Regions from separate parts of the Homo sapiens genome. Here all the other regions are linked to region 1. The links are contacts of gene promoters, found by promoter capture Hi-C in blood cells and fetal thymus (Javierre and others, 2016). All regions are on one chromosome and are shown on one strand. The core of a region is centred on a gene start or on the middle of the fragment in contact, and the rest is flanking DNA. Distances in the headings are between cores, read along the strand shown.

Region 1 (7,000 bases), core at 4,210-6,709:
TGAAATGAGGATGAATCTCCAGAGAATTATGCTGAATAAAAAAAAGTTCAAAATCTTAAGTACTGCATGAATCCATTTAAATAACACACATGAAATATCAGAGAACAGATTAGTAGTTGTCACAGATTAAGGATGTGGTAGGGGTGGGATGGTAGTGAATACGATTATAAAAGGGCAACATAAAAAATCCTATCATGATGGAAATGCTCTGTATCTTGACTGTATCATTGTCAATATACTGTTGTGATACTGTACTATAATTTTGCAAGATGTTACCATTAAGGAAAACTGGATAATGGCTACATAAATCTTTGTTTACTATTTCTTACAACTAGATGTGCATGTAGAATTACCTCAAAATGAAATGTTTAATTTTTTTAAAAAGCCCAGGCTTTAGGACAAAGCTAGATGACTTTGGGTAAGTTGCTTCCCTTATTATAGGGCTAAATTACTACATTAAAAGATCAATGGTCTAAGCATAGTGCCTGGTACAAAGTAAGTGCTCAACAGATGGCTACTAAAATAATCCTAAAAGTCATGGCAGTGGGGATGAAGAAGCGTATAACAAGATATTTAGATGATACCACTAATGGGTTTTGGTGACAGATTAGATGTGGGATAGTGGGTGACGGGGAGTCAAAGATGATGCCCAAGTTTCTCATCTGAGCAAGTAGGTGCTTAGTGGCACTGTTTACTGAGCAGATGTGGAGTGAAGAGATGAACAAAGAAGAGTTTAGTTTTGGAAGTGGTGAGTTTGTGTTGACTGGGAAACATTCAAATAGAGATGCCCAGTTAACAGTTGGATATGTAAGTCTGAAGTTCAGAACACAACTCTGAGATGGAAATTTAACTTGATGACCACCATGCAAATGATAACTGAAGCCAGTAGAATGGACAAGGTTGCCAAAGGGGAGAAACCACACAGCCACTATGACTATAAAGGAGCTTCAACCTTTAAGGACTGGATAAAAGGGTCAGTCTAGCAAAGGAAATATAGAGTAGCCAGAAAAGGAGAAATAACAGGCATTTATAGTGTCAGCCAAGATAAGAGGAAGGTGTTTTAAAAAAGAGTGGTCAACTATGACCAAGCAGTGAAGAGATTAATTAAAATGAGGAGTAAAAAATCATCCTCTGAGTTTAGTGACCTGGGTATCGCTGGTGCCTTTGTCAGAATAGCTTTGGTGAATAACAAAGTAGGTTTCCACTGGAGCCGACTGAGAAGAAGGTGGGAGAAAGGAAGACTGCATAAACCACCACCAAGTTTATCCCTGAAAAAAAGTAGGTAGTACAGAGAGGGAAAGAAGTTGAAGATGTGTTACAGGATAAGAATTATTTGAGTAGGGAGGAGAAGATATGATTCAAAGTATAAGTAGCAGGATTAGCTCAGATAGAAGTGGCACTTCATCTACTCTAAGAAAAGGAAACAAGAAAGGAACCATGCAGGCTGGGCGCGGTGGCTCATGTCTGTCTGTAATCCCAGCACTGTGGGAGGCCGAGGCGGGTGGATCACCTGAGGTCAGGAGTTCAAGACCAGCCTCACCAACGTGGTCAAGCCTCATCTCTACTAAAAATACAAAATTAGCCAGGTGTGGTGATGCATGCCTGTAATCCCAGCTACTTGGGAGGCTGAGGCAGGAGAATCGCTTGAACCCAGGAGGCAAAGGTTGCAGTGAGCCCAGATCGTGCATTGCACTCCAGCCTAGGCAACAAAAGTGAAACTCTGTCTCAAAAAAAAAAAAAAAAAAAAGGAAGAAAGAAAGGAACTATGCAGATACAAGTAAATTTGAAAATGTGGCCATTCATCGTACGTACAGACAACTACTCCCTCATCATTTCAATTTTCCTTTGAAGGAGAAGGCAAAGCCATTGCTAAGACTGAAAGACTGGATTAATTTTTTTTTCTGTTTACTGGATTTTTATTCCAAGCACCTGATCCAGTGCCTGGGACATAGATTTAATAAGTATATTTAATAAATATAATGGAAATAAACAATTACTGTTACCTTAATGCAGTAGTTCTTTACAATTTGTGCACAACTTTCTTCAAGTTAGCCACTAGGGGGTAGTCTGCCAATCTTATTCCCTCAATCTTTTAATCCAGTGAAATTGATAGAAAACTACAATGCAGTGTAGGTCATATTAATAAAATGTTTTTCCTCAAGAAAATTCTGTTTAATAATTATATACATGTACGTGTGTATGCATTTGCATGCACGCGCATACACACACAAATACACTGAGGCACGATGGGAGGGTTGTTACTTCTGCCGGCCTCCCACTGCAGCCATATCAGGATGCCCCAGAGGCAATAGTCAGCATTTTCCAGAGACACTTTTTGCAATTTCTCCAGGGCACTCAGTAAATAGCAGATAGGTCTCTTATACTTATACTTAATTAACTAGAAAAGGCTGATGAAAAAAATCCCTGAAAACTAATTGCTCAAACATTTGCCTTTGCTTCTTCTAAGATGTTTTTCCCCTCTACACCTTCCCGTCTTTCCGAATTAAGTAAGTTTTTTTGTTTTTCTTTGAAATGGAGTCTCGTTTTGTCACCCAGGCTGGAGTGCAGTGGTACGATCTCGGCTCACTGCAACCTCAGCCTCCCGGGCTCACGCGATTCTCATGTCTCAGCCTCCTGAGTAGCTGGGACTACAGATGCCCTCCATGACGCCCAGCTAATTTTTATATTTATGGTAGAGACGGGGTTTCACCACATTGGCCAGGCTGGTCTCGAACTTCTGACCTCCAGTGATCCACCCGCCTCAGCCTCCCAAAGTGCTGGGATTACAGGCATAAGCCACTGCGCCCAGACTTCAAATTAAGTCAGTTTTTTAAAAAATCGTTTTAAATAGTTATAACCTAGTTCAACTACTTTTTCCCCTTATCACATATGCTCGATGTATTCTTATAATGAGGATTTCTCAATCTACAATATAACACGCCTATGATGTATACCAGAAGCAGCAGCTACTTTGGGGTAAATATACAGCCATGGGGCTGGGAAATACTTTCCAAGCTTGGTTCTAATGAACTCGGGCCTCTACTGAAATAAGCAAACTAGCAGAGTTTTAACTTACAACAGGATGCAAAAATTCTGAATACCCCAAAAGAAAAGTAGATGTAAAGGCATACTGTTCCCCAGAGGCTTAAGGTTACACATATCACCAGTTTCAGTTAGGGGGAAACTGAACTTCCGAAGGGGCAGAGGCTTCCAGTCATGTAAGTGAACACATCACATCCTAACCTAAGAAAAGCTGTTACTTAAAGCTGTTAAGGTCTGACACCTGATGGGCTGAAGGTACATGGAAGATGGGAAAGAGAGGCTAAGGCCATCATACGACTAGATTCGTTCAAATCAGTGAAAAAGGTGCTTGACCCAAATGCCTCCAAACCTGGTTATTTTGAACTAAAGTTGTTTGGGAACAAAAACACCCAAGAAATGGGTCATAGAGTCTGGGTGAGAGTTCAAGGAGCGATAAGTCAAATGTAGATACAGTGTCATACTGTTTGCAAATTGTTTCAAAAACAACTTTCAAGGTTCTTTAGTGTATAGTGTTCAAACTTGAAAATTAAGGGTCACTTTTTTTTTTTTTTTTTTTACTGTGGACACTGTATTCCACTAGCTTGTATGGAAATCTATTTGTATAGATAATTTTTGGAAGCTCTTCGGGACAAAGTTTTTAAATTATTTATAAAATTGTTAATAGTAAATCACTGCTCCTTAATCCTAATTAAAATATTCAACCTTCCTAACGAACTGATACAACCCTGAAGAGGAAAAAAGTTTATTTCTTAATAATTATACTTTGGCTACATAGACACTCCTAAAAATGAGCTTCCGAACTGAGATGAACAATTCACTGCTTCATTCCTCCTATAAATCCACGTCCACTTTCAAAACTCATGTGCTAAATCCTTAGATTTTTTTCCCCCAGCAAACATCTACCTAAGAGCCTGATTTCATTGACACACACTTGTACTCCGCAACAACAACACTTCCTTTGAAAAACAGAATGTCACTTCCTCAGTCCAGAGGCCAGAAGTCCCTTGATTCTGATCTGGGGAGCCAAGACAGGAAATTCTGGTAGGCTTCTGCCTCTCCCCCCATGGACAGCCACTGGTGCAGCTGACAGAGGGCAGGGTCTATTCCGAGCTCCCTTGATGCACTGCAGCTGGAGGCAACGGCTCCCTTCCAGGCTGTGGGAGTGATCCCGGAGTTCGGCACCACAGCCCGTTAAACAAGGGCATTTCATGGGAAACGGAGAGGGAGCAGATGAGAGACCTTGAAACCTTCCAGCAACCTTACCCCCACTTCCAAACTCCCGCGACTACCCCAAGACCATTTCGGCCAAATCTCAGTAACTGGCACCATCTTGTACTTTGACCTCACCAGGCAAGGCATCCTCTGGGGAGAGGGGTTAAAAAAAAAAAAAAAAAAAGCCAGAACTCCACGGCTCAGCGCCACGCTGTTCCACCTCCCCCAGGCTGCCAGTTCCCCACCTAGAGGGAAAAGGCTGTTCCAGCGATCTCAGTAAACACTGTCGGTTGGCAACACCTGGCCGCGGAGAGCCTCGATCTCTCCCGACCCCAGACACCCGGGAGCTGCCCGGTCCCAAACCCGGGCCAGCCACGGGGACCAAACTGCAGTGTCACACCGGGGTCGGGGGGAGGCGCCTGTGAGAGACGAACGGAATAAAGGGAAAGAAGGGGGACAAACAAATGAGTCACTTAATACAAGGGCTGCACATGCCGCTGACGCTGCCGGTGATGCAGCCGCGGACGGAGGGAGGCCGGCGGCCGGGAGGGGCAGGCGGAGAAAGGGAAGGAGAGGGCGTGAGGCGCTCGCCCTTTGTGGGGCCGTCCGCGCGGCCCCACAGCCTACGCCCCCCTTTCCCGCCCTCTCCCCGACCCTGCGGGCTGAAGCTGCTCGGGGCTGCCGCGGAGCCCCAGCCCCGAGAGTCAACTCTCTCGGTCTCCAGAAGCCATCAATACAAAACTTCGACACTGTATTTAGTTCACGAGCAGACCGGCTTGGGAGGCGCCGCAGCCGCACCCGCCTGGCGGAGCAGGAGCCGCAGCCTCAACCTGCCGCCCGCCCCGCCCCTCGGCGGCCCACCTGTGACAGGTGTGCAGGTGCCCCACACGCCCCCGGCCGCTCCTCGCCCCCGGCCCCCCGCGGCTCCGGGCCCGAGCTCCCCAGCCTGCCGCCCCTCCGGGAGTCCCCCGCCCCTCCGCAGGCCCCGGAGCGCCCCCCGCCCGCCCCTGGGCGGCCGCGCCCGCACTCACATAGCGCCTCAACTTCTTCTCGGGAGGCGATTTCCTCAGCCAGCCGGTGCACACCACGTCGCCGCCGCCGCTCATGCTGCCGGCCTGGAGCCCCCCGCCGGGTCGCGCGGACGAGGGCGCGGGCTCGGGCAGCTGGGGCAGCGGCCGGCGGTGCGCAGCTCGCGGGAGGCCAGGGGCGGGGCGGGCGGCCCGGCGGGGACTAGGCGGCGCGGCGCGGCGCGAGCCCGGCAGCCTCGCGCGCGCCCGCTCCCCCGCCCCGAGCGCGCGCAATCCGCACTCTCCGCCCGGCCGCCGGGGGAGCAGCTGCAGCAGGAAGGCCGGCTCGCTCGCCACGCCCGCTCCCGCCGCGCCCCCGAGGCCGCCGCGCACGCGGACGCGGGGCTAGGGACCCGCGAGGATACAGAAAGCCACCGCCGCCGGCGCGCCCCGGAGTCTCGCTTTCTCCTGAGGCCCCAAGCCGCGGGCGCGGAGGCCAGGGAGGCGACCGCGCCCCTGGCGCTGGCGGGTGTGAGGGGAAGGGACTGCGCGCCCTCGGTCGTCGATCGATTTTTCACCGAGCGTCGACGGGGAAGGGATACTAGGGCTGCTCACATTTCCGATACATTCTGCGGGTCAGGTTCCGGCTGAAAGGAGGGACCCCTTCCCAGCAAGAAGCTCCTTAACTCTGGCGTCCCTCGGCGGGAGGAGGAGACGGACCTACTACGCGCCGGAGCCTTTGCTTTTGTAGCTTACAGGATTGTCTTCAGTATTGTTCCTATTTTATGGACAGCCTAAGGGCAAGGGCTTGTACAAAGCCGAGCCAATTTTCCAATTCAGGTGTGTGGGGGAGGAGGGGTCCCGGTCATCTGCTATTCAAAATGAGGGCATTGCCTTAATGGGATCGACCTGGGAGCCTCTCATTGCCTGGAAACCAAGTCCAGCTGACTCCCTCCTACACTGCCTCTGGGAAAACACAGTTTAGTATAGAAAATTCGCATGATTTGTAGAATGGAAGAAGCAAAACTAGTCAATGTATTTCATAACGAATTGGAAGGCAAGGTCAAGTGCAGAAGAACAAGAAATTGGGGTCCAAATTCCCCAACGTTCCCGCTCATTGACACAGGCTATGAGACCTCTGTTTGTAAATATAATGGTATCCCAGATGTACGTGGAAGCACACAACCCCAGCACTTCAGCGGGAGGGGGGAGAAAAAAATCTTTTGTACGAGCTCTTTTCTCATCACAAAGTGTCTCTCTAAGCAGCATTAAAAGGCAGGTCCTCCCTAACTTCTCTGATAAGTGGATAGTAACCTGTTTATTCAATGGGGAACCGTGCTGTGTGGACAGATGAATTGGAGAAGCAGCATCTTGCAGTGCCCCACACAACCTCAGACTAAAGCTGTTTTGTTTATTTCTGTCTCTGTGCAGCTGAGTTGTTTCAAGCAGTTGGACATCATTTGGTCCAAAAGATCTTGATTGGGTTGGGGGAAGTTCACCCTCCTCAATTTGGAAAAGCGAATCCCCTACCACGTACTTAGCTCTTCTAGATACCCTGGGAGTTTTAGCGGTCAGTCCCCTGGATCTAACATTTCACTGACTTTCTTCAATATCCAGTGTGCTGCTGGATGGGAAGTAAAGCCAGAACTGGTAGGCTGGGACCACAGCTCCCTTAACCTTACAATTTAGGGATCCTTAAGTCACGTATGAAGGGCCACCACCAGAATGATGGCCATTTT
Region 2 (7,571 bases), core at 4,489-6,988, 650 kb before region 1:
TGGCACGATCTTGGCTCACTGCAGCCTCAACCTCCTCAGCTAGCTGAAGCAATACTTTCACCTCAGCCTCTTGCATAGCTGGTACTACAGGCATGCACCACCACACCCAGCTATTTTTTGTATTATTTTCTTTTCTTTTCTTTTTTTTTTTTTTTTTTTTTTGTAGAGATGGGATTTTGCCATGTTGCCCAGGCTGGTCTCGAACTCCTGAGCTCAAGCAATCTACCTGCCTCAGCCTCCCAAAGTGCTAGGATTACACATGTGAGCCACTGTGCCTAGCTGGGTTTCCTTATTTTTAGAAGGGTAATTCCGCTGTCAAAGTAAAAAGTCATCCGCCTAGATTTTTGAGGTCCTGTCTACTACGGATGAATGTACGTTAGCAAATGCAAGATACAGCACAATAACAAATGAATGCCCTTGGTTAAGCTCAGTTCCTAGACACCTCTCTCTCTTTCTCTCTCACTATCAATTATCAATAGTTGTTGATTTTACCTTCCAAATAGCTCTTACATCCACCCCCTCCTTTCCATCCCTAGTGCCAAAACCTTAATTCAGGTCTCCTTATTGCTCAGTTGGATTATCACAGTAACCTCCTGAACACATGACTGTTAGGCCTCCACTCACTGTCATTTTCTCAAGGTACTTTCTATTACAGTAGGGCTAAGCTACTGGTTATTTCCTAACAAAATTTCTGCTCATTCTATAGGTCTTAGTTCAGCTGTCTTAGGGAATTACTAACAATAGATGACAAATAGATGCCAATGCTGACTGATTTGTGTAATAATGTAGTCTGCTAAGTCTAGGCTTAGCAGGAAGGCTTAGGTTGGTAATGTCTGCTATGAGCAAAGCAACAAGGCCTAGCAGATGCCAGATACTTGCTCTGGATTTAAACAGAATTTTATATTAATTATATTCCATTTACTTCAAAAGGAAAAGAAACAGCTTTCAGTAATACATATGTACAATGATGCCACAAGGAGAAAGACGAGAGCACTGTAAGAGCCATGTAACAGGGAAGGTAAAAATTCCATCAGAAAACTAGCTAATGATTATAACTAATAAATAAATATAACAAAGTTAAGCTTACTGGCAGTCAAGGGAAAGAAAACTAAAATTGTCTCAGTGATTAATTGATCCATCTAATACTGATGCATAAAAGATTAAAAGAAGCCGCCGGGCACGGTGGCTCACGCCTGTAATCCCAGCACTTTGGGAGGCCGAGGTGGGCGGATCACGAGGTCAGGAGTTCGAGACTAGCCTGGCCAATATGGTGAAACCCTGTCTCTACTAATAATACAAAAAAAATTAGCCAGGCATGGTGGCACGCACCTGTAGTCCCAGCTACTCAGGAGGCTGAAGCAAGAGAATTGCTTGAACCCAGGAGGTGGACGTTGCAGTGAGCCGAGACAGCACCACTGCACTCTAGCCTGGGTGACAGAGTGAGACTGTCTTTAAAAAAAAAAAAAAAAAGATTAAAAGAAGCCTTCAAGAAACTTACAATATACACAAAAGACAAATGTGAGGAACATTTCATCAGTGATATTTTAAAGTACTGGATTCACCAAGTCCTGGATTTGAATGCTGGCTCTGTCGTTTTTAGCAATGTGAGACCAGACAAGTTACTCTATTTAGTTTCTCAAAATCAATTTCCTTGTGAGTAAAATGAGGATAATCAGTATTTTAAAGTTGAGATAATGCAAAGGAAGCACTAAACAGCGCCTGGTACATAATGAACATTCAATATAAAACCATATGACAGTTTCTAAAATAGGGTTAAACATAAATCCATGAAGGAACATCTTCCTGAGAGAAGGACTCAAGGAGACAGTACTACTTGAGCTGAGACCTAAAGGACAAATAAGTTGGCTAGGAAAACAAACTGGTGGGAAGGTACTCCAGGCAGAAGATACCATATATGCAAAAATTCTGAGGAACGAAAAAGATGGCATGTTTCTGTATCAGTGGTCCTCAACCTTTCTGGCATCAGGGACCAGTTTTGCGGAAGATAATTTGTCCACAGACTGGGGGTGGTGGGTGGGAGGGAGATGGTTTGGGGATGATTCAAATGCATTACATTTGAATCAACTAGATGGCCCCATCTGGAAGTGATGGGAGATAGTGACGGATCATCAGTCAGTAGATTCTCATAAGGAGTGCACAACCTAGATCCTTCGCATGTGCAGTTCACGATAGGGTTTGCACTCCTATGAGAATCTATGCCGCAGCTGATCTCAGAGGAAGCAGAGCTCACATGGTAAGGAGAGGAATGGGGATGACCACTATTGGTCTGTGGCCCAGGGGTTGGGGACCTCTGTTCTATATAACAGAGTCTAGGGGAACCACTAAATAAGTCTATGCATACTATGTGAACTAAAGTAAAAATGACAACATCCCTGAGCCTTATTAGTTTCTTACTTGATGTGATCAGGGTGATTTTAAGAATTAAATGAGAAAAGACATGAAAAGTCCTGAGCACAGTGTTAGGCACAAAAGAGATATAACACTTCTGAAATCTAACTTCAGGACTCAAGACTGCTACTAAGTAGTAGCAAAAGAAGAGAATCACATACTTGCAGTCATGTGGATTTTGGAGCCATAGTCTTACTTTTAGTAAACTAATTAAAAATTATGTGTATTATAAAACATAATATCAATTTATGCTAGAGTAATATTTCAGTAATAGAGCAGGAAATTTACAAATACTAGTTACCTTGATCAAATATTTTTCCCATCTGTCTGCAGTAACAGATTTGCCAATTTTCCTCATCAGCTTCAAATGGAGCTCCACCAATTCTTTTGGTACTTAAAAGAAAGAAAAAAAATATCATTAGCCAACAAAATAAAACAATTCTAAACATTTAAGATAATAAAAAAATAATCTTCTCCAACCCTGGATACCTTCTCAAAACAGACAGTGTTGATACTAGCTAACTTTTAGACCTCTGAATCAAAAAAGCCTAAACTACAGCAAGAAATGACCAAAAACCACTTTCTCAAAGACAAGCAAGAATATTCACATTTTCTTTCAAAACACCATCAAATAAAAGTAAAACCTAATATAAAGTATGAACTTTGGTGATAATTATATGTCAATGTAGGTTCATCAATTATAAGAAATGTACCATTATTGTGGGAGCCAACAGTAGAGAAGTTGTATGAGTATGGGGACAGGGATACATGGGAACTCTCCGTACTTGCTGCTTAATTTTTCTGTGAACCTAAAATTGCTCTTAAAAAAATAGTTTGTTAAAAAAAAAAACCATCAAGTAAAAGCACTTAACTATACAACTAAAGTTTGTATTGTTTATCTGCAATAACAAATATTTGGTTCCTTTACTGAGATTTCAAAGACATACATTCATAGAATTAGAAAGGAACCAAGAAGTATGAATTCCAAGTTGACAGATACGACAGAAATTAAACTAACAGTTTCCAAACTGTTTTGGAAAACTCTTCCAATCTATCCCTTGTCTGATGTGTTAAACTTCTCTGTAGCATTTCTATGAATCTTTGCTTGACAAGCTTCATGGACAAAAAAATTACTTACCTTCCATAGCACTTAGTTCTGTTTTCTGGATAGTTCTAATTACTAGAAAGTTACCCTTACTCTCAGTCAAAATCTGCCCTCTGACAACTTCCTCTCCTGATTCTGGCTCTTATTCTCTAGTTTCAATGACAGTACTTTTAATCCCTCTTCTGTTGGAACCTTCAAATATTTGAGGACTGCCGTATCTTCCCTCAGATTCTCTGCTTTGACTGTAAACAATCAGAGTTCCTCTAACTATTATTTAGGCATGGTCTGATTGTATTTAATTACATTAATTAGACCAGAGGGACACATACGGCTGTCAAAATAAGCATTTTTCTTTTTTCTTTTGAAACGGTATCTCACTCTTTTTGCCCAGGCTGAAGTGCCGTGGCACAATCTTGGCTCACTGTAATCTCCGCCTCCTGGGTTCAAGCAATTCTCCTGCCTCAGCCTCCCAAGTAGCTGGAATTACAGGTGCCCACCACTACTCCCGGCTAGTTTTTGCATTTTTAGTAGAGACAGGGTTTCACCACGTTGGCCAGGCTTGTCTGGAACTCCTGATCTCAGGCGATCTGCCCACCTTGGCCTCCCAAAATGCTGGGATTACAGGCATGAGCCACTGCACCAGGCCTAAAATGATCAAATATTTGTAACCTAAGAGAAATTACAGTATACTACCTAAAAAGATCCCATACTCAAATATATTGGCAAAATGCTGGATCAAAAAAAAAAAAGTTGTTTTTTTATCTTTAAACCACAGGACCATTGTCTTATCATTCGCCCTTATGTGCATTGTGAATATCCAAAATAGGTACATAATCTGCAGCGTTCTCTAACATATTTGATCCACTATCTTGTAGGATACAAACACTCTGAGGGACAGGTTGGGAAATGATGACCTAATATTTTTCAGTCATTCTTTCATTCTCTACTAAAGCTCCTTCTGAATTTGAAACAACACTTTGAAATATAAAAACATTCACCCATTCAACTACTTTCAGTGGGTCAAATACTAGTAAGAAAGAAACAGTCCTTCTGTCTTTAATGAGCCTACTTGAGTGAATCTTCATAGCAGGTAGAGTGGTGGGTTGGGGGTGGGAGTGGGGAACAGTGTTCAAAGACAAGTAAATAGACAAATCTACTAAGATGTGAATTATGGGGGGTTAAGGGTGGAATGGAGAAAAGGAGGGAAAGGGCATTGCTTGCACAAAAACAACAGATGCAAATAGCTAAAAAACCAAAAAGAACATGGAACTGGAGGAATGGACATAGATAATTACAGCCTAATGAGGCCAGGCTCAGAAGTTTAGATTTTATGTAAAAGTTTAAGCAGGAGAGTCTGTTGCATTTTAGAAGACCTTAATGATTGAATTGGAGGAAGACAGATTTTTAAATATTAACAAAAGAAGTTTTTATTTGCTTTTTTGTTTTAGGAGGTGGGGTGCAGGGCCGAAGCTAGATATAAATTCAGGAAAACCTCAATCCAGAAGATAGAAGTAGCCTAAACTAAGGTAGAGGTGGTACAGAGAGAAGTGGACAGATCTGAGAAATGTTTAGGAGACAAAATTATCAAAACTTAGTGATTTACTGGTTGTGCAGTGATAAAAGATCTGGGCTGGATTCTCAGCTGCCCCACCTATATAAGGGGACAATGGTTCTGGTCAAGTCCTTTAAACAATGAAGCTCAATTTCTCCATTAAAAAAGGCTGTGTTGGCTATCTCATGGAATTTTGAAACTGTATAGCGTTGTATAAATATAAAATACTTTTATTTCTCTTCTGTTTTAAAACCAAGGTCACTTTCTTCAATTTCTCCTTTTCCACAAACACAGAAGTATTGATGTTCCCCCTTCCCACATCTTAAACCTGCCTCCTATTTCCTCCTTTCCCTAGGACATGACTATACCTTCTCGCATCAGAAAAACAGCTATGGATAGTCTCCTGCAATCAAACCAATCTTCCAAAAAGACTGCTTTCATATCACTTCCCAGTTGGTAAGTATTTTTTATGGCTCCTAAATACCTACATAAACCCAGCCAGATTTCTTACCCTAGCCTCAGAGTCCCAACATTCAGTCTCATACTAACTCTGCAATTCTTCTCTCTTACTTCCTGCACTGAAATCCTTGATTCGAATCATTTTGCCAGTTAATGGTCCACTAAGCATGCTCAGCCCATTACCTATGTGGGCTTTATTAAAGAGTTATTTATTGTTTTCTGCCCACTTGAATCATATTTATCTTTCAATGTCTAGGCAATACAAGTCCCGAAAGTCTCCGTGATAGATTTCTAGTACCAGCAACCTTTTTGTCCCTGGAACACCCACTGTATTCATACTGTCTGTATCACTCATTAAGCAGTTGGCTAAAACCTTTGCACCAGTGTTTTACTCATGTTCCCCACCAGTGTTCTATGCTACACAGAATCATGAAAGATTTTGATACAACTGGTACTATTTTTTAAAAGCCAATACAAGACAAAAATAAAAGTGAATAAATGTTTTCATCCCACTTTACAAATCTACTCATTGTTGATTTAGGCATGTACAAATAGATTATGTATTACTTGATTTAAAAGAGTACTGGCTCTTCTACAGTCAGCACTGTGCAATAGAAATGTAAGGTGAGTCACATAATTTCAAATTTTCTAGTAAAATATTATAAAAAGTAAAAAGAGGTTAAAATTAATTTTAATAATATATTTTATTTAATGCCCTTCATCCAAAATTATATCAACATATTATCAGCTTTTTTTTTTTTTTTTTTTGAGACAGAGTCTCGTTCTGTCACCCAGACTGGAGTGCAGTGGTGTGATCTTGGCTCACTGCAACCTCTGCCTCCCGGGTTCAAGCGATTCTCCTGCCTCAGCCTCCCCAGTAGCTGGGATTACAGGCGTGCGCCACCACGCCTGGCTGATTTTTATATTTTTAGTAAAGACAGGGTTTTGCCATGTTCGTCAGGCTGGTCTCGAACTCCTGACCTCATGATCTCCCGCCTCGGCCTCCCAAAGTGCTGGGATTACAGGTGTTGAGCCACTGCGCCCGGCCAATCACTATTTTTAAAGTATTACTTTCTTTTGTACTAAGTAAAAGATTTTACTTTTCAGACTATTTAAAATACATTGTGCATTTCACATTGACAGCACATCTCAATTCAAACTAGCTACATTTCAAGTGCTCAAGAGCCACATGTGGCTAGTGGCTACTGTACTGGATAGCACTGCATAGTGTAGACCCAGCATGCTTAAAATTAAAATTTATAACCCAACTGAATTAATATTTTGTTACAAATAGAACTGACAAGCTGATAATCTTTAAGTGCACTAGTATAATCTGTCAACTGATAAGAAACAGGCTACAGGAAAATTAATCAACATTATAGTTTATTAAACATTAAAATCACCATACTTTTTATTCTTTAAAACGGCACTGTCTATTAAATAGATTGCTCCAGGATGATCGAAATGTTCTATATCTACACTTTTCAGTGCAGTAGCCATTAGCCACATGTGTCTACTGAGAAGCTGAAATGTGGCTAATGAAACTAAGGAACTCAATTCTTAATTTTATTTATTTTTAAATTATCTTAAATTTTAATAAACACGTAGTAAGTTGCTATGGCTTTGGACAGCTGTAAAGTATCAATCATATATATATTTTTTTGAGATGGAGTCTCGCTCTGTCGCCCAGGCTGGAGTGCAGTGGCGCAATCTCAGCTCACTAGAACCTCCACCTCCTGGGTTCAAATGATTCTCCTGCCTCAGCCTCCCAAGTAGCTGGGACTACAGGCACGTGCCACCACACCTCGGCCTCCCAAAATACTGGGATTACAGGTGTGAGCCACCGTGCCCAGCCATCAATCATATTTTTTAAATACATGATCATTTTCTAAAACACTGACAAGCTCTAAATTTATTTATCACCTGCAAGATTTCTAAAACAGTTTCATTTCCAGAAGATAATTAACTTCTTTCTAAAGATTTACTGATTAGCCACTTCAAGTCAATCCAAAAAATAGTTTTTGTCCTAATTGAACTGAAATATCC
Region 3 (7,251 bases), core at 3,341-5,840, 970 kb before region 1:
GTGGTCCCTGTACAACAGGATCCCTTCACCTGGAAAGAATCACTGGATTAAAACACATAAAGACATAGGAAGTATAAATCATTTACCCAAAACCACACAGAGATAAGAAGAGCTAGATCCTATTTTTGTTACCTTTCTATAACACATCCGCTATTAGCCAACTTAAAAGAATATAGGATGAATCAGCAGCCCATGCCACAAAACAAGGAGGCAGAGGTGTTTCCCAGGGTCTACATTTTGGCCTTCTTTACCAACTCCAAAAAGGTCCTTTGTGTTTGGGCTCTCCCTGGTGAGAACCTGTTCAAATAGTTGGGATAAGAATCCCATTATTCCCATTGTCTGATTCTATAGCTCTGAAAGGTAGGTTACCAGCACCTAACAAAAATAGGACAAAACTTGGAGGCGAAAGATTTCATAAGCACTAACACTGTTTCAAGTCAAAGCTGAGCTCATCTATCTTGCCCGTGGTAGTGTGAGAGAAGCAGCTTTTCATCCCTTTTTAGAACAGAACATGTCCAAAGGTAGGTGTTGTTATATCTGCTAACAAGATGAAACAGATTCTTTTTTTTTTTTTCAGGGGAAGTCTCGCGCTCAGGCTGGAGTGCAGTGGCACGATCTCAGCTCACTGCAACCTCCACCTCCCGGGTTCAAGCGATTCTCCTGCCTCAGCCTCCCAAGTAGCTGGGATTACAGGCGCCCACCACCACGCCCAGCTAATTTTTGTATTTTTAGTAGAGACGGGGGTTTCATCATGTTGGCCGGACTGGTCTCAAACTCCTGATCTCAGGTGATCCGCCCACCTCAGCCTCCCAAAGTGCTGGGATTACAGGCGTGAGCCACCATGCCCAGCCAAAATAGATTCATTTTAAAATGCCAAATTACAGAATTGCCTACAGTTGCAATTAAGGCATTAATAACTCTAGGGCTATTTCTTAATACACAATTATGAGAGTACCACAGCTATTTGCTCCTCATTCCACCACACTCCCATTTGAACTCTAGTCCATCACTGCATTAAACACATCTACATACTCAATTTGTGTGTTTTTGATGTGCACAGAAAGAATACTGAATTAGGAGTCAGAAGAATAGTTCCAAACACAACTCAAGCTTTGGAATCAGCAAGCTTGGGTTTGAATCCCAATTCTGTCTGAGTTACCAGCTGTGAGATCAGAAATTAATCATTTAATCTCTCTGGACCTCAATTACCTCATATGTAAAATGGGAGACTCATATGGGAAAAAATGGAAAAATATGTCAGAGACCTGTTGTGAGGATTGGGAATATTTATTAGGCAACTTGCACAGCAGTAAGTTACTCAATGCGTGGTACTTTCCTCTTTTATTGACCACCTGGTATTTGCTACGTATTTCTAACCTTGGAAGGGTTGTTTTGAAGAAGTGTTTAAGGAGAGGTAGAATATACAAATTACATTAATTACAATACAGTACAACACAAAATATAACACAGTACAAATATAATATAAGAAATGATGTCATAGCCATTACAACAGAGTAACACATAAACACTGAAGGAAGAAATACTAATTCTGCCTGGCACAGGAGGACAATGTCAGAGAAGGCATCAGAGACAGATATTTGAACTTGGTCTTGAAGGTTGTTGAGTGTAAGGACAGCAAGCAAAGGAAAACATGTTAAACAAACAAAATGCTATGAGACCCAAGTTAAGGGAACATGAGAAAGAATGTTTGGCTTATTTCAGCAATAGTGTGAAAACTTACAAAGAAGTGATAGGTTATACAGAACCAGAAATAAGATTAGCATGAGGAAGGGACTACCCATGGGAAGTTTTTTGTGGAAAGCAAAGTGGTATAATAGGCAAAAAGAGGTAGTCATTTGAGAAACTCTTGAAACTATTTAGCTGGAGAAGAACAGTAATAAAATCACTATTGTGATTATAAAGAATTGTCATGTGGAGGAAAGGTTGAATTCATTTTGTCTGACCCAAGGGACAGATTTAAGAAGGTGGATAGAAATTAAAAAATGATATTATACAAAAATGGCTAAGGAATATTAATGATATACAGGGTGAGTGTTTGAAATTTAAAAGAAAATGTCCCTCCTGTACGTTTTGAAATTAACCCAGAAAGCTCGAAAGAGAAACTCCTTCAATCTTAGCCTGGGCTAAGAACCCCAGGCTTTCTCTTCCTCTTTGGGGACAAGACTTGACTTGATGGGCCTTTGGTGCAACCAGGTTTGAGGAAGGTGCTTCCACCACTTCCTGAGGCCTTACACAATTCAATTCAACCTCAAAAGGGAACACTAGCCCACACAGAAACAGCTTAAAAAGAAAACTAAAGAAGGCAACGACTTTAAAGGAAACTAGGCAGTGCGCTTAAAGAGAAAAGGGCAATGGGAACAACATGAACATCAGAGGCATCAACTATCTGTTCTCATGTTAATGAAGGAAGGAAGAGCAGCAAGACCATTCAGTTCAACATCTCACTGTACACATAGAGAAACTGAAGCCCAGAAAGGGGATAGGGCAGGTAAAGCCAGGCATGAAAACAACTTAACATAAAACGTTAGAGTTCAGGCAGACTCTTTTATCATCTCACTTTTCCTCAAAATAACACAGTGAAGGAGGTGTTATTTTCCCAATGAGACACGAAGATCTTTAAAGCATTACAATGTTTGTGTTAGTTTTCCTTATGGGTTGCTGGAATGAATAATGCTTTCCTTTTCAATCCTATAGGTAAAAAAAAAAAAAAAAAAAAAATCACCCTAAGGACTGGAGCTTCTCCAGGGAAATAATGTGGACTAGGAAACAGTTTCTCAATACCCTCACCCCAATTCCCCTATTCTATCTAGGACTTTCCAATGTATTACATATTCAATTTTTTAAAAATTCTGTTTTAGCCCCTGTGCTGAGAACAGGGAGCAAAAATTCAATCAGACATGCATCTTCAAGGAGCTTCCCATTCTGAAAGCATAGACAAGCATGACAATCAATGATTATCTTTTAGTCATGAAGACTTGGTTTCAAATCCTGGGTCTGCCCTTTACTAGCTAAGGCAAGTCATTTCCTTTCATCTAAACTTCAGACTCCTTTTCTGCGAAATTGAAGGCAATACCCTCAGTCTAACTCAAAGTATTAACTTGTGAGTATTTGGAAAGATAATTATTTAAAGCACCCAGCAGAATGTCTGATCCACAGTATATATGCTCAGAAGGTATTTACTGAATTAATGGCTTACATAAAAGTATCAATTCTAGGGGTAGAGTTGGGAAGAAAGAACATCCCAGCATTATGTTTTCTCATAACCCTGGACCCACTGAGAGAATGATGTTTACCTGATCATGTGGGTTTCATGCTCCCCAACTCTTGTGCATTAAAGCCACAAATACCACCCCAGCATTAAAAACCCGAAAGAACCTGGCAGGTCCCACACAATGACTAGGGATGAAGGAAATAGCTGTCTGGCCTGACCATATTTGCAAAGGGAAGTAGGCAGCAGAGCAAGGCCTAAAAAACCCAAGACCTGAAATCCTGCAAATCCTTATGATTAAAGACTAGAAAATCCTTGTTAAATACAAATATCTCTGCAAGGTGAAGCTGGGGTGAAGAATTAGGAGCCATTAGGGATTTATGGAACTCTATGGGCCACAGAAGTTCTCCACTTTAGATAGATATTATTTCAAAAAAATACATTGGCATATCTACTGTGGGTCAGGTGTTGAAACAGCAGAGGACTTAGACATGGTTCCAGTTTTTGAGACACTTAGAATAACAGAGACAGAGATCACAATGAAAAATGGTTTCACCACTAAGGTCCTGACATACTGCTATTCAGTGGGCTGCAACTGCCTGCAGAAGTGACCCAAGTTTCCCAGTTACCAAGTTTCCTCCTCCTCTTTTTCAATCCATTTACCACAAAACCTGCCATCTCTAGAGGCCCTTCTCTGGGCAGAAGAGCTTGCCTATGTGCCACAGGAGTTTAGAATGGAAATCTGACTAACAGCAAAGCTCATACCTTACACCACCTATAGCCTCTGGAATCAAACTCCACAAAACACTTTAAAACCACAGAACAAGAAGTTCTGATGTATTTATTTTAAGACTTTAGGGAAACCATTTGAGAAGACAGAACTAAGTCTTCTGAGAATATCTCAAACATTTACTGACTACCTATTATGTTCCAGCCACCACTTTGATTCTTTATAATGGGGTTCAAGACATGCTACCCCAAAATATGACATCTTAGCATATGAGAAAACAGCAGACGCAAGAAAGTATTCTCACTCTCAGCTTCCCCTCACCCTTCTCCCCTGAAGCAGGTAATCAGATCCTCATTCAAGAGGTACCCTCCTTATTCCCAGAGGAAAGCCTCATTTTTCTCTGAAGACACAGGGACATACAGAAAAATCTGAACAAACCAGCCTTGCTAAGTTCCCTCCAACCCTGATCCTATTACCATTACATCATACCGCCTTTGTCCAATCATATTTCTCCAAGACTACCCACTTCTTCCATCAAACCTAAACATAAAAATACACAAGTTTGCCTGTTTCTTTGCATCCTCATTTCCTTATGAAGGCTCCTATGTCATGTAAAACTTGTATTAAATATATTTGCTTGCTTTTCTCTCGTTAATGTCTTTTGTTTTTTTTTGTTTTTTTTTTGAGACGGCGTCTTGCTCTGTCGCCCAGGCTGGAGTGCAGTGGCACGATTTCTGCTCACTGCAAGCTCCGCCTCCTGGGTTCATGCCATTCTCCTGCCTCAGCCTCCCGAGTAGCTGGGACTACAGGCGCCACCACCACGCCCGGCTAATTTTTTGTATTTTTAGTAGAGACGGGGTTTCACCATTTTGGTCAGGCTGTCTCGAACTCCTGACCTCAGGTGATCCGCCTGCCTCGGCCTCCCAAAGTGCTGGGATTACAGGCGTGAGCCACCACGCCCGACCTCTCTCGTTAATGTCTTTTGCTACAGGAGCCTCAGCCATGAACATAGCAATGGGAAAAATATTTCTTTTCCCCTACATTTATATATATTAATGTCCTCAAAACAACCCTGTAAGAGAGCTATTATTGTCTCAATTTTACAAAGAAAAAACTACGTTCACAGAAATTAAGTGACTTGCCCAAAATCACACAGTTAATAAGTGATGGAGCTAAAAATTCATAAGTAAATTGGCCACGTCCACTTTAAAGTCTTCATTTCATTTTTTCCCCTGCATCTCACATTTCATTCTAATGATAACGCTGTGAGGCAGAGTATCAACATAATTTCATTTTATAAATAGGAAACTGGTGCTTAAGGAAGTGATATTACTTTCTGAGAAACAGGTCAGTAAGTAGCAGAGCCACAGTTTGTACCCAGATCTCATGCCCTCAAATCTGCACTCTTTACACTACCCCACAATTCCTCTTACACTTGCCTTGCAGAGAGGTGTAGTAAAAATATACTTAATAGGGAGTCAGAAGTGCTGAGATGTGGTCTTGACTCTGTAACTAACTTATATAATATTGAATGAGCTGCTTTTCTTCTCTTGGCTTCAGTTTCTCATTCATAAAATAAGGGTGTTGAATTAGACATCTCCTAGGGTCCCCTTCAGCCAGCAACCCAACTAGTCTATGAGAAGCAGTTTCTCTAATTTCCTTGCCACTCAAGCAGTAACTTTCTAAAAGAAAAAAAAAGACTGGTTATTTACAGTATAGACGAAGGTGGAAAATGCTCAGCACCAAAGAGTAGAAATTACCCATTCAAAAGGCATATTTACCTTCCTCAAACACCCTAGATATAAAGAAAGAAGAAGCCATAAGCCACCTAATAACAGGGTTGGCACATCTAATAACAAGCCAAGTAGGAGTAAAGAGTGTGTTCATGGTAGGGCCCTTTTCCCTCTGCTGGATTCCTAACACTTCTATTCACTAGCTTTCTCTCTTCCTAGGTTGGCACATCAGCCCTGCCTCACAGCAAATCAGGCTTATGACTTTAACTAAATCCCATCAGATCTAAACAATCTACAAATGACTTTTTACTAGTATTACAGAACAAAAAAATGAAAGCCCCAGATGTAAATTCATCCATGCCAAGAAATAGGAAGAAGGAAGAAGTGGGATATATAAGATTTTGGAGGCCAGGTGCGGTGGCTCACGCCTGTAATCCCAGCACTTCAGGAGGCCGAGGCAAGCAGATCGCCTGAGGTCAAGAGTTCAAGATCAGCCTGGCCAATATGGCAAAACCCCGTCTCTACTAAAAATACAAAAATTAGCCAGGTGTATGGCGCACGCCTATAGTCCCAGCTACTCAGGAGGCTGAGGCAGAAGAATCGCTTGAACCCAGGCAGCAGAGGTTTCAGTGAGCCGAGATCGCGCCATTGCACTCCAGCCTGGGCGAAAAGAGCAAAACTCAGTCTCAGGAAAAAAAAAAATTTTTTTGGAAAAATTATTTCCCTGTCTGTCCTAGTTTCTTTATATATAAAGCAAAGGAGAGAGTCCAAACTGATTCTAAACACCTTTCCCACTGAAACTTAACATGAACTTGTAAGTATTCTATATTTAGAAAATGTGAGATATATTAAAAAAAAAAAAAACAAGGGGGAAAAGGGCATGGTATTACAAATTTTAATTACCTCACAGGAGAAAATAAAAAGGAATGAATTATAGTGCCAGGGAAGAACATAAAATATGTATGGTCACAGCAAGCTGAATACATATTAGTTATAAGAGCAAAAGGAACTGCACTATCCCTGTAACAGCCAAATAATTCATATAATGCCCCAGGGTAAGACTGCAGAGCAGAACCCATGTTCATGCAGTTAAACCAGAGCTGATCTGAATATGATCAAAGATCCAACACCAGGCTGGGTGCGGTGGCTCACACCTGTAATCTTAGCACTTTGGGAGGCTGAGGCAGGAGGATTGCTTGAACTCAGGACTTCAAGACCAGTCTGGCAATATGGCGAAACCCCATCTCTACAAAAAAATACAAAAAAATTAACTGGGTATGGTGGCACGTGCCTGTAGCCCCAGCTACTTGGCAGGCTGAAGTAGGAGGTTGAAGCTGCAGTGAACTATGATCAGGCCACTGTACTCCAGCCTAGGTGACAGAGCGAGACCTTGTCTTGAAAAATAAATAAACAAATAAATAAAATTCATACTACCTTAGCCAAGTATCATCATTCATATTCTGTAGCTCTTTACCTATTAATATGCTAAATTACGTACTAGGCACTTCCACATATATTTGTCCATTTAATTGTCTCAACACCCCAGTGGTTATATTCCC
Region 4 (7,955 bases), core at 865-3,364, 610 kb before region 1:
GATAATTACAACAGTACTACTACAGGCATTTAACCTATAAAATTATGGTAAAGCATGCATACTACAAAGCCCCTTATTTTTGCATTTTTGTAATCTATTTTTCTACGAAAGATAAGAATGGAGAAGATAATTAAGGTTTAAAGGGGAAGTCCAAAATACAGGAAAATAGGACACTAAAGGAGTGAGATATAGTTATCATGGTGAATACAACTAGGTAATAATAGAAGATAGGGTATAAAATGAAAAGGCCATGAGGCAAAAAGATAGCAAGGAGAAACCAGTTGACCACAGTCAAAATTCATAGGACAAAAAACCTCTAAAATGAGGATTATGGAATGTCTGAATTCAGATGCCAGACCAAGTTAGTGCTGCTGTAGATGGTTTATTTATGGTTCTGATAAACTGGAGGTTGGCAAGACTTTAATGGGAATATAAAGTAAGCTCCATTATACTTCTGATTAATCAAAGTTTTCCAATATTACCATATTGCTATATCCCCAAACTCCAAATACCAAAAGCAAGTTAGAATGGATTATTTGGAATAACTCATTCTACCTAATTTTCTTTTCCTAAAACACTTTTAACATCTAAACATTGAAGAAGTGGCAATTATATTTATTTGCAGAGCCAACTGTGAAGATGCTAAGGACAAAAGGAAAAGAGTAAGTATCAAACTCCCTGAGATATCTAGCATAACACATGCCTAAGCTTCATAACCAGTACTGCACTTTTGCTGCAAAATACACTGATGACCAAGGCATTTAATCCCACTTACTAGTAAGCTATTATCTAGTACATTCTTTCCCAGTCCTGTGTCCTCTAAGTAACCTAAGTAAATCTTTTAAGTTCTACCTTTAATAACTACATCCTTTCCCATCTGAGTACACGGCATCACCATTCATCCAACCTTACCCTCCCCTAATCAGTCCACTTGGATAAGACTTTGAGGCCAGTATAGCAGCAATGTTACAACAACTCTTACCCTCACTACCAATTACCATGTCACATGGCTCCCATCCTGGCATTGCCTTATGACAATTAGGCAGAGGTAGCCATGGCTACTCTTGAATGAAAGAAATTTAGTTCAATATAATGTCATCACCTTGTTAACAAAAAAGCTTTTAGACTCACCTAACCCAAGAGGAGTAATTAATACTAAAACAGTTGGATGTAAAATTAGATCAATACTGGGGAGACTACTGTTCCACTAAGTTTCATTCACAGGACATTCTAGGCATTTAATTTGTATTATATTGGTTCCTTTTTATTTTTATTTTTTGGGGGGGAGATGGGTGGAGTCTCCCTCTGTTGCCCAGATTGGAGTGCAATGGCATAATCATGGCTCACTGTAATCTCTGCCTCCTGGGTTCAAGCAATTGTTGTGTGGCAGCCTCCTAGGTAGCTGGGATTACAGGTGTATCCCACCACATCCAACTAATTTGTATTTTTAATAGAGACCAGGTTTCACCATGTTGGCGAGGCTGGAAATTTGTATTATACTGGTTCTAAATGTATTTTCAAAAACAGAGATCATCATCTGATAAGACTTCCATCTTCATACACTGGAATAAAGATCAGTAAATTTTTTTCTGTAAAGGGCTAGACAGATAATAAGTTCTTCAGGTTTTGGGTTTTGTTTTTTTCTGAGACAGGGTCTTGCTGTTTCACCCAGGCTGGAGTGCAGTGGCATGATCAGCCTCAACCTCTGGGACTCAGACAATCCTCCGAAAGTGCTTGGATTGCAGTATGAGCCACCATACCCAGCCCAATACTTTAGGTTTTGAAGTTATATGTTCTCTGTGACCATCACTCAACTCTGCCACAGTTGTGTGAAAGCAGCTACAGACAACAGAATGTAAACAAATGAACATGGCTGTATACCAGTAAAACCTTATTTACAAAGATAGAGAGGACAGGCTGTAGATTGCCCACCACTGTACTAAGCTATCACAGACTAGGCTTTAACTTCAAAGTTTTAGAGCAGAACATGGTCCTATAGTAAGTTGAGGAAAACTATTAATTCCACAAACATTTACTACATATTTGCTATTACCCACCAATTGCTGGTGATAAAATAAAGTAAGAAACCCTGTCCTCAAAGAGTTTACCATCTTGTAGGCTAGGCAGTAACTGCAAAAAGTGTTATGAGTACTGTGGCATAAAATCTACAAAGTGTACGTGCAGGGTAAGGAGATTGAAGTGGTTAATTTAACTTGAGAGACAGAAAGAAGGAAATTTTCCACAGAGCATTTGATGCTTAAAGAGCAGACTAATGACGGGTACAGTGAGCAGGCAAGGGAAGGAAGATGGGGATGGTATATTCGACTCAGAGGCAGGAGGACGAAGAAAAAGCATAAATGTAAAACAACCTTTCACATCTTCAGAGATGTAAAAGCAGTTTGGCGTGATTAAAACTAGCAATGAGAACAGAAAAGCAAGGTTGAATATAAAAGGGGATAAACAGACTCAATATAACTTGGTATCAAAGAAAGTGTCAGAGGCTAAGGTCTAGGATGCCTCCTTGGTTTCTGATCTGAGTGACTTGGGTAGATGATAGTAACATTCATTTAAGAGGTAATTCAAGATTAAGAATAAATAAATAGGCTGAGCTTGGTGGCTCACGCCTGTAATCCCAGCACTTGGGGAGGCTGAGTCAGGTGGATTGCTTGAGCCCAGGAGTTTGAGACCAGCCTGGGCAACATAATGAAACTCTGTCTCTACTAAAAATACAAAAAATTTTTAGCTGGGTGTGGTGGCACATGCCTGTAGTCCCCAGCAACTTGAGAGGCTGAAATGGGAGGATCGCCTGAGTCTGGGAGGTAGAGGTTGCAGTCAGCAGAGAACAAGCCACTGCACTCCAGCCTGGGTGACAGAGTGAGACCCTGTCTATAAAAATAAGAGTACATAAATACAAGCAGAAATTCAATTTTCCTTTTAAAAAGCCTCTTTAGAAATCTAGTTTTAAATAGTTTTTTGGTGATTATCAAAGAAATGCACAATTAACATAGAAAATGAAATGTGAAAAAATATAAGAAAAACCAAAGGGAAAAAACTGTATAATCCTACTATTCAGAAAATGATTAAGATAAACATGTACAAATACTGGAGAATAAAGCTTAGAGTCTAAAATTAAATACAGACTCAACCTCCACTACGAAAGCTTTCTGGAGGAACTCTTGCTTACATGAGCCATATATACATTATATACTTCATGTTGCTCTTCAAGCAATCCTTGTTCAACTACAGGAGGCTGAAGCCTGGTCTGTCTGCTGTCAAGTTTTGCCCTCATGCTCTTCTTTCTTAAAATCAGTTTGGGCTGGATGTGGTGGCTCATGCCTGTAATCCCAGCACTTTGGGAGGCCGGGGCAGGCAGATCACTTGAGGTCAGGAGTTTTTGAGACCAGCCTGGCCAACATGGCGAAACCCCATCTCTACTAAGAATGCAAAAAAATTAGCTGGGCGTGGTGGCGGGCACCTGTAGTCCCAGCTACTCAGGAGGCTGAAGCAGGAGAATCACTTGAACCCAGGAGGCAGAGGTTGCAGTGAGCTGGGATCGCACTACTACACTCTAGCCTGGGTGACAGAGCTCCATCTCAAAAAAAAAAAAAAAAAAAAATCAGTCTGGTGTAGTTTCTGCTTGCTGTGCCCTCACAACTCATGTTCTTACACTGAAAAGATCACCTTAATTTTGGACAAACATTCTAAGCATAACTTTTAATTCTTGCTCTTTGTCCAGCCTCTAAACTGGTAAGATTAAATAAACACTGCAAATTCCCCACCACCTCATCCCTGCTTCTTCTGTTTATTAACAGAAAGGCACAAATTATGAAATAATTTGCTAAAATCAGAATATCTTACACAACTTACTTTGAGAGAAACCAAATTTATTTGATAAGTATTTTTAAATGAATATTAAAACTTACTTAATTCTGAGCAAAACATGAAAGTAGTCTAATGATGAATGGGATCAAGTCTGCCATTTATAATTTTTTTTTAACAACTGGTAATCAATTTATTAAAATAGTTGACTTAAGCATCTGCAATGGTGACTTTCACCTCAACTCCCGGCTCAAACTGATGGAAGCAATCTGCTTAACAATCTCAGAAGGACTGTGCAAGTCAATGAGTCGCTTGTGGATTCTCATCTGGAAAGGATCCCACGTCTTAGAACCTTCACCACAAGGACTTTTTCTGTAGTGATTCTCAAAGTCTTGGTAGGTATTCGAACTGGTCCTTTCACTTGGAGATTCTTTGCCTCTGCTCCTCTGATGAAGTCAGCACACACCTTTTCCAGGGATTTTATGTTGCGGCTCGTTAGAGTGATTCAATTTCGGTGAACTGCCACCTCCAGCTCCACGCGTGTTTTTCCGGTAACCTTCAAAGCCATAGCTGCTGCACGGCTTCCTGACCGACTTGTTCCTCGGCGAGAGCGAACAGTAGTGAGTAAGGAGCAGGAGCCTGCGGATCACAGAGCCGCAGCACCTACCACCGCGACTTCCTCAAAGAGCGGCCATTTATAATTTGTAAAAGGACACACACACACACACACACACACACACACACACACAGAGATAATGGAGAATTAATACAATTTAACACATCCCTAAACTCAGGATAAAAATAAGAAGTGGCTGGGCACAGTGGCTCATGCCTGCAATCCCAGCACTTTGAGAGGTGGAGGTGGCTGGATCACCTGAAGCCAGGAGTTCAAGACCAGCCTGACCAACATGGCAAAACCTGTCCCTACTAAACACATAAAAATGAGCCAGGCATGGTGGTGCATGCCTGTAATCCCAGTTACTTGGGAGCGTGAGGCAGGAGAATCACTTGAACCCAGGAGGCAGAGGTTGTAGTGAACCAGGATCGCGCCACTGCACTCCAGCCTGGGCCACAGAGCGAGACTGTCTCAAAAAAAAAAAAAGTTTTGGCCACAAGTGGTGACTCATGCCTGTAACCCCAGCACTTTGGGAGGCCGAGGTGGGAGTATCACCTGAGTCCAGGAGTTCAAGACCAGCCTGGACAATACAGCAAGACCTCATTCTCTACCAAAAAAATTTTTAAAAATTAGCTGGGCATGGTGGCATGTGCCTGTAGTTCCAACTACTCGGGAGGTTGGGGCAGGAGGATTTCTTGAGCCCAGGAATTCAAGGCCCTAACTCTGGGGGGGAAAAAAAAGGACAGAGTCTCGCTCTGTCACCCAGGCTGGAGTGCAGTGGCACCATCTTGGCTCACTGCAACCTCTGCCTCCCAGGTTCAAGCGATTCTCCTGCCTCGGTCTCCCGAGTAGCTGGGATTACAGGCGCCTGACACCAGGTCTGACTAATTTTTGTATTTTTAGTACAGATGGGGTTTCACCATGTTCGCCAGGCTGGTCTCAAACTCCTGACCTCAGGTGATCCGCCGCCTGGGCCTCCCTAAGTGCTGGGATTACAGGCATGAGCCACCGTGCCCAGCCGAAAAAATACATTTTTATAAAGTAGGCATTCACCTCAGAAATCCTTTGATAATGTTTGAAGCAATACCAGTTTAATACTGTTTAAGTCAGTTTCCTCTATTATTGTGGTTCAATTGTTTAGTGACTTGGAAACCCCCAAAATATGGTTTTTTTTTAATTTCAGTGCCTCCTTTCTTCCTAACACACTGGTGCAAACCTCATACAGAGCACACTGGAGCTAGCAGGCACTGCACTTTATGGCATACAAGTGAAAGAAAGCGTAAAATGGAAGAAGCAGCCCCTTCAAATGGCTAAAGGTGGTGTGACTTCAGACATGAGGATCAGGAAATGGAAGTAAAGGGGAAGTGGAAGAGTAAGGAGAGAATGCCTGCTGTTCTCTCTAGTTTAGGCATCAATTTGCCTGGAGGCACTGCTTGTGCCCAACAGTACAAGAGCGAGCAAAAATGTTTAAAAGTTAGCTAATGCAAACCTAACGTACAGATATGACCATATAAAGCTAAACAAATTAAAAATCAAAGCCTGCTAGAACATATGTAATTACAAAGTGTACATTATAATTGCCCATATAATTAAATGTTTTTAAAAGAAAATAGAAAATACCCTAATACCTTTTGTGGGATCTACTCTACAATAAAAACAGAAAACAAACAAAAAAAGCCAAGCATAATATATTAAGACTATACCCATCAGGTAGAGTAAAATTTTATTAAATCTAACAACACACATAACTGTCTTCCTTGAATACATGATTCAGTTTAACATGTACTTTAGGCCTGAATTATTCTTTTTCATATTGCATGTGGTCATACATCTCACCATAAAATTGTTAGATAATTTTAGTTTACAACTGTAGACTAGAATGCACGGACTATTGCTCCACTTGATAAAATCTCAGAGAAAAAAAACTAAGTCTTTGAATGATGTCATTAGTTTCAAGCTCAGTTTAGCTATTTCTTACTAGATTAGAAATTTCTTTTAAAAGGCTCATGTTTAATGTTTTTTTAAAAAAATAATCCCCACAATATTTACTGTAGCTACATCTGTACATAGCAGATGCTCAATATATATATTAAGTGAATAACCTCACTAATAAATGCTTGCTTACCTTCTTACCGGTGAGGTCTGTTTAAGAACTTAACAAAACATCTAAATTTAAGGCAAACTTCTTAATCATTAAAAGACTAAAAAGTAAGCCAGTTTGCATTAACAGGCTCATGTTAGCCAGACAAGTCCCTCTGTCTCCATTACCTCCTAGTTCCTAGGACAATGACAACAACCTCCCTCCAAACCTCCGTAACTTTACTCTATGACATATCGAAAATGGTGGAGATGAAATCTGTTTCTCTCTTTTCATCTAATAAGTGCCCTAAAGAATATTTGCTTTTTCAAAGGCAGAAGAGACACAACTAAAAAGTTTCAACCTAACCAGGCTCTGGCCCCAGCAATACTACTATTAATGTATGTATGCCCTACCAGTGTCTACCACTGTAGACTCATGCAACCTCTAGTACATGCACCTGGTAAAATCTTTTGTTTAAATCAACACATGTGGCCCCAGTTACAGTAATCACCTTTCCACTTTATCAAATGCACCTAAAAATATATTGTTACACACAGATCAGTTACAGTACCAGTAAGAGAGACCATAGTAAGTTATAGTTACAATTCCAGTTAAAAAGGCATTTTTTTAACTTTGATATTTTCACTTCGAGTTAAAATTCAAATCATTAAATGCAAAAATGAAACAAAAAACTAATGGCTCAACTTACTTAATATCATACAACTAATTCAGCCAACCATAGTATAAACTATGAGAATCCTAACACATTATCTGTATTTACCTTAATAAATTTATTAGATATATGTAACATCTCAACCAATATCCAGACTGTTTTTAAAGAATACAGTAGTATAGTTTCCTCTTGAAAAGAAATATTCTCTGCAGGAGAGGAAAGATACTTAGGAGCCTTGGGTGTCAGGGATCTCACAAAGTCAACGTCAACTTTATCCATAACCACCATCATCTACCTCCAGTTAGGAGAAACCTGGGGAAGTCCACACAAAGCACAGAATTGGGAGGACTAAAGTAGACTGCAGGGAGAGGAGGATAAAACACCACCTTCATTTGGCACATCCTTTTATAACTAGTATCAACTATAAATCTAAATTTTTTGTTGACAATTTCAGCATATATGTGGGCTTTTCAAATAAGAATTTGACTAACACCAACAGTTAGCTGTATACACTTGAAATCTCTCTCTGTAGCTTGATTTTCCTCCTGAAAAATAAAGGCAATGACACAATAGTCCCTTCTTTCTTGCCCCGAAATTCAATGATAGTTTCTAGAGCAAAGGTTCTCAAACATTCTAGCTTCACGGCACCCTCAGTATCTCAGTAATTTTCTCACAGCAGCCCTAGGCCAGAAATAATAACACTTCCACTTATTAAGTAGTCAGTAGCCATGTGAAAAAATAACCTAGCTAAATTTCAACAAATAATG

The links. The method cuts DNA at HindIII sites, captures the fragments that hold promoters and counts their contacts. A CHiCAGO score of 5 or more calls a contact.
Region 2: a contact is called between a fragment that was not itself captured here and the fragment with the promoter of GAB2 in region 1, in 1 of 17 cell types (erythroblasts). The highest score is 5.7, in erythroblasts.
Region 3: a fragment that was not itself captured here is called in contact with the fragment with the promoter of GAB2 in region 1 in 1 of 17 cell types (neutrophils); the score reaches 5.9 in neutrophils.
Region 4: a fragment that was not itself captured here is called in contact with the fragment with the promoter of GAB2 in region 1 in 2 of 17 cell types (naive CD4 T cells and naive B cells); the score reaches 5.5 in naive CD4 T cells.

What each region holds. Positions count from the first base shown.
Region 1 is chr11:78,412,361-78,419,360 of GRCh38, forward strand. GAB2 (GRB2 associated binding protein 2) reads right to left here and starts at 5,460. Exons shown (of 10, transcript NM_080491.3): 1 at 5,286-5,460. The coding sequence starts at 5,360. RefSeq lists enhancers at 1,367-1,496, 4,446-5,200 and silencers at 4,063-4,357, 4,820-4,949, 5,020-5,119, 5,230-5,849. The HindIII fragment of the contact is 5,597 bases long and covers 3,014-7,000 here.
Region 2 is chr11:77,761,888-77,769,458 of GRCh38, forward strand. RSF1 (remodeling and spacing factor 1) reads right to left here. Exons shown (of 16, transcript NM_016578.4): 2 at 2,711-2,802. It also overlaps the pseudogene LOC124902804. Among named protein-coding and RNA genes, the nearest start is that of RSF1-IT1, 26 kb to the left of the region's middle. The HindIII fragment of the contact is 4,436 bases long and covers 3,521-7,571 here.
Region 3 is chr11:77,446,975-77,454,225 of GRCh38, forward strand. All of the region lies in intron 1 of PAK1 (p21 (RAC1) activated kinase 1), which reads right to left. Among named protein-coding and RNA genes, the nearest start is that of PAK1, 23 kb to the right of the region's middle. RefSeq lists enhancers at 1,741-2,511, 2,091-2,520. The HindIII fragment of the contact is 6,933 bases long and covers 1,125-7,251 here.
Region 4 is chr11:77,809,290-77,817,244 of GRCh38, forward strand. All of the region lies in intron 1 of RSF1 (remodeling and spacing factor 1), which reads right to left. It also overlaps the pseudogene RPS20P27. Among named protein-coding and RNA genes, the nearest start is that of RSF1, 7.5 kb to the right of the region's middle. The HindIII fragment of the contact is 1,997 bases long and covers 1,117-3,113 here.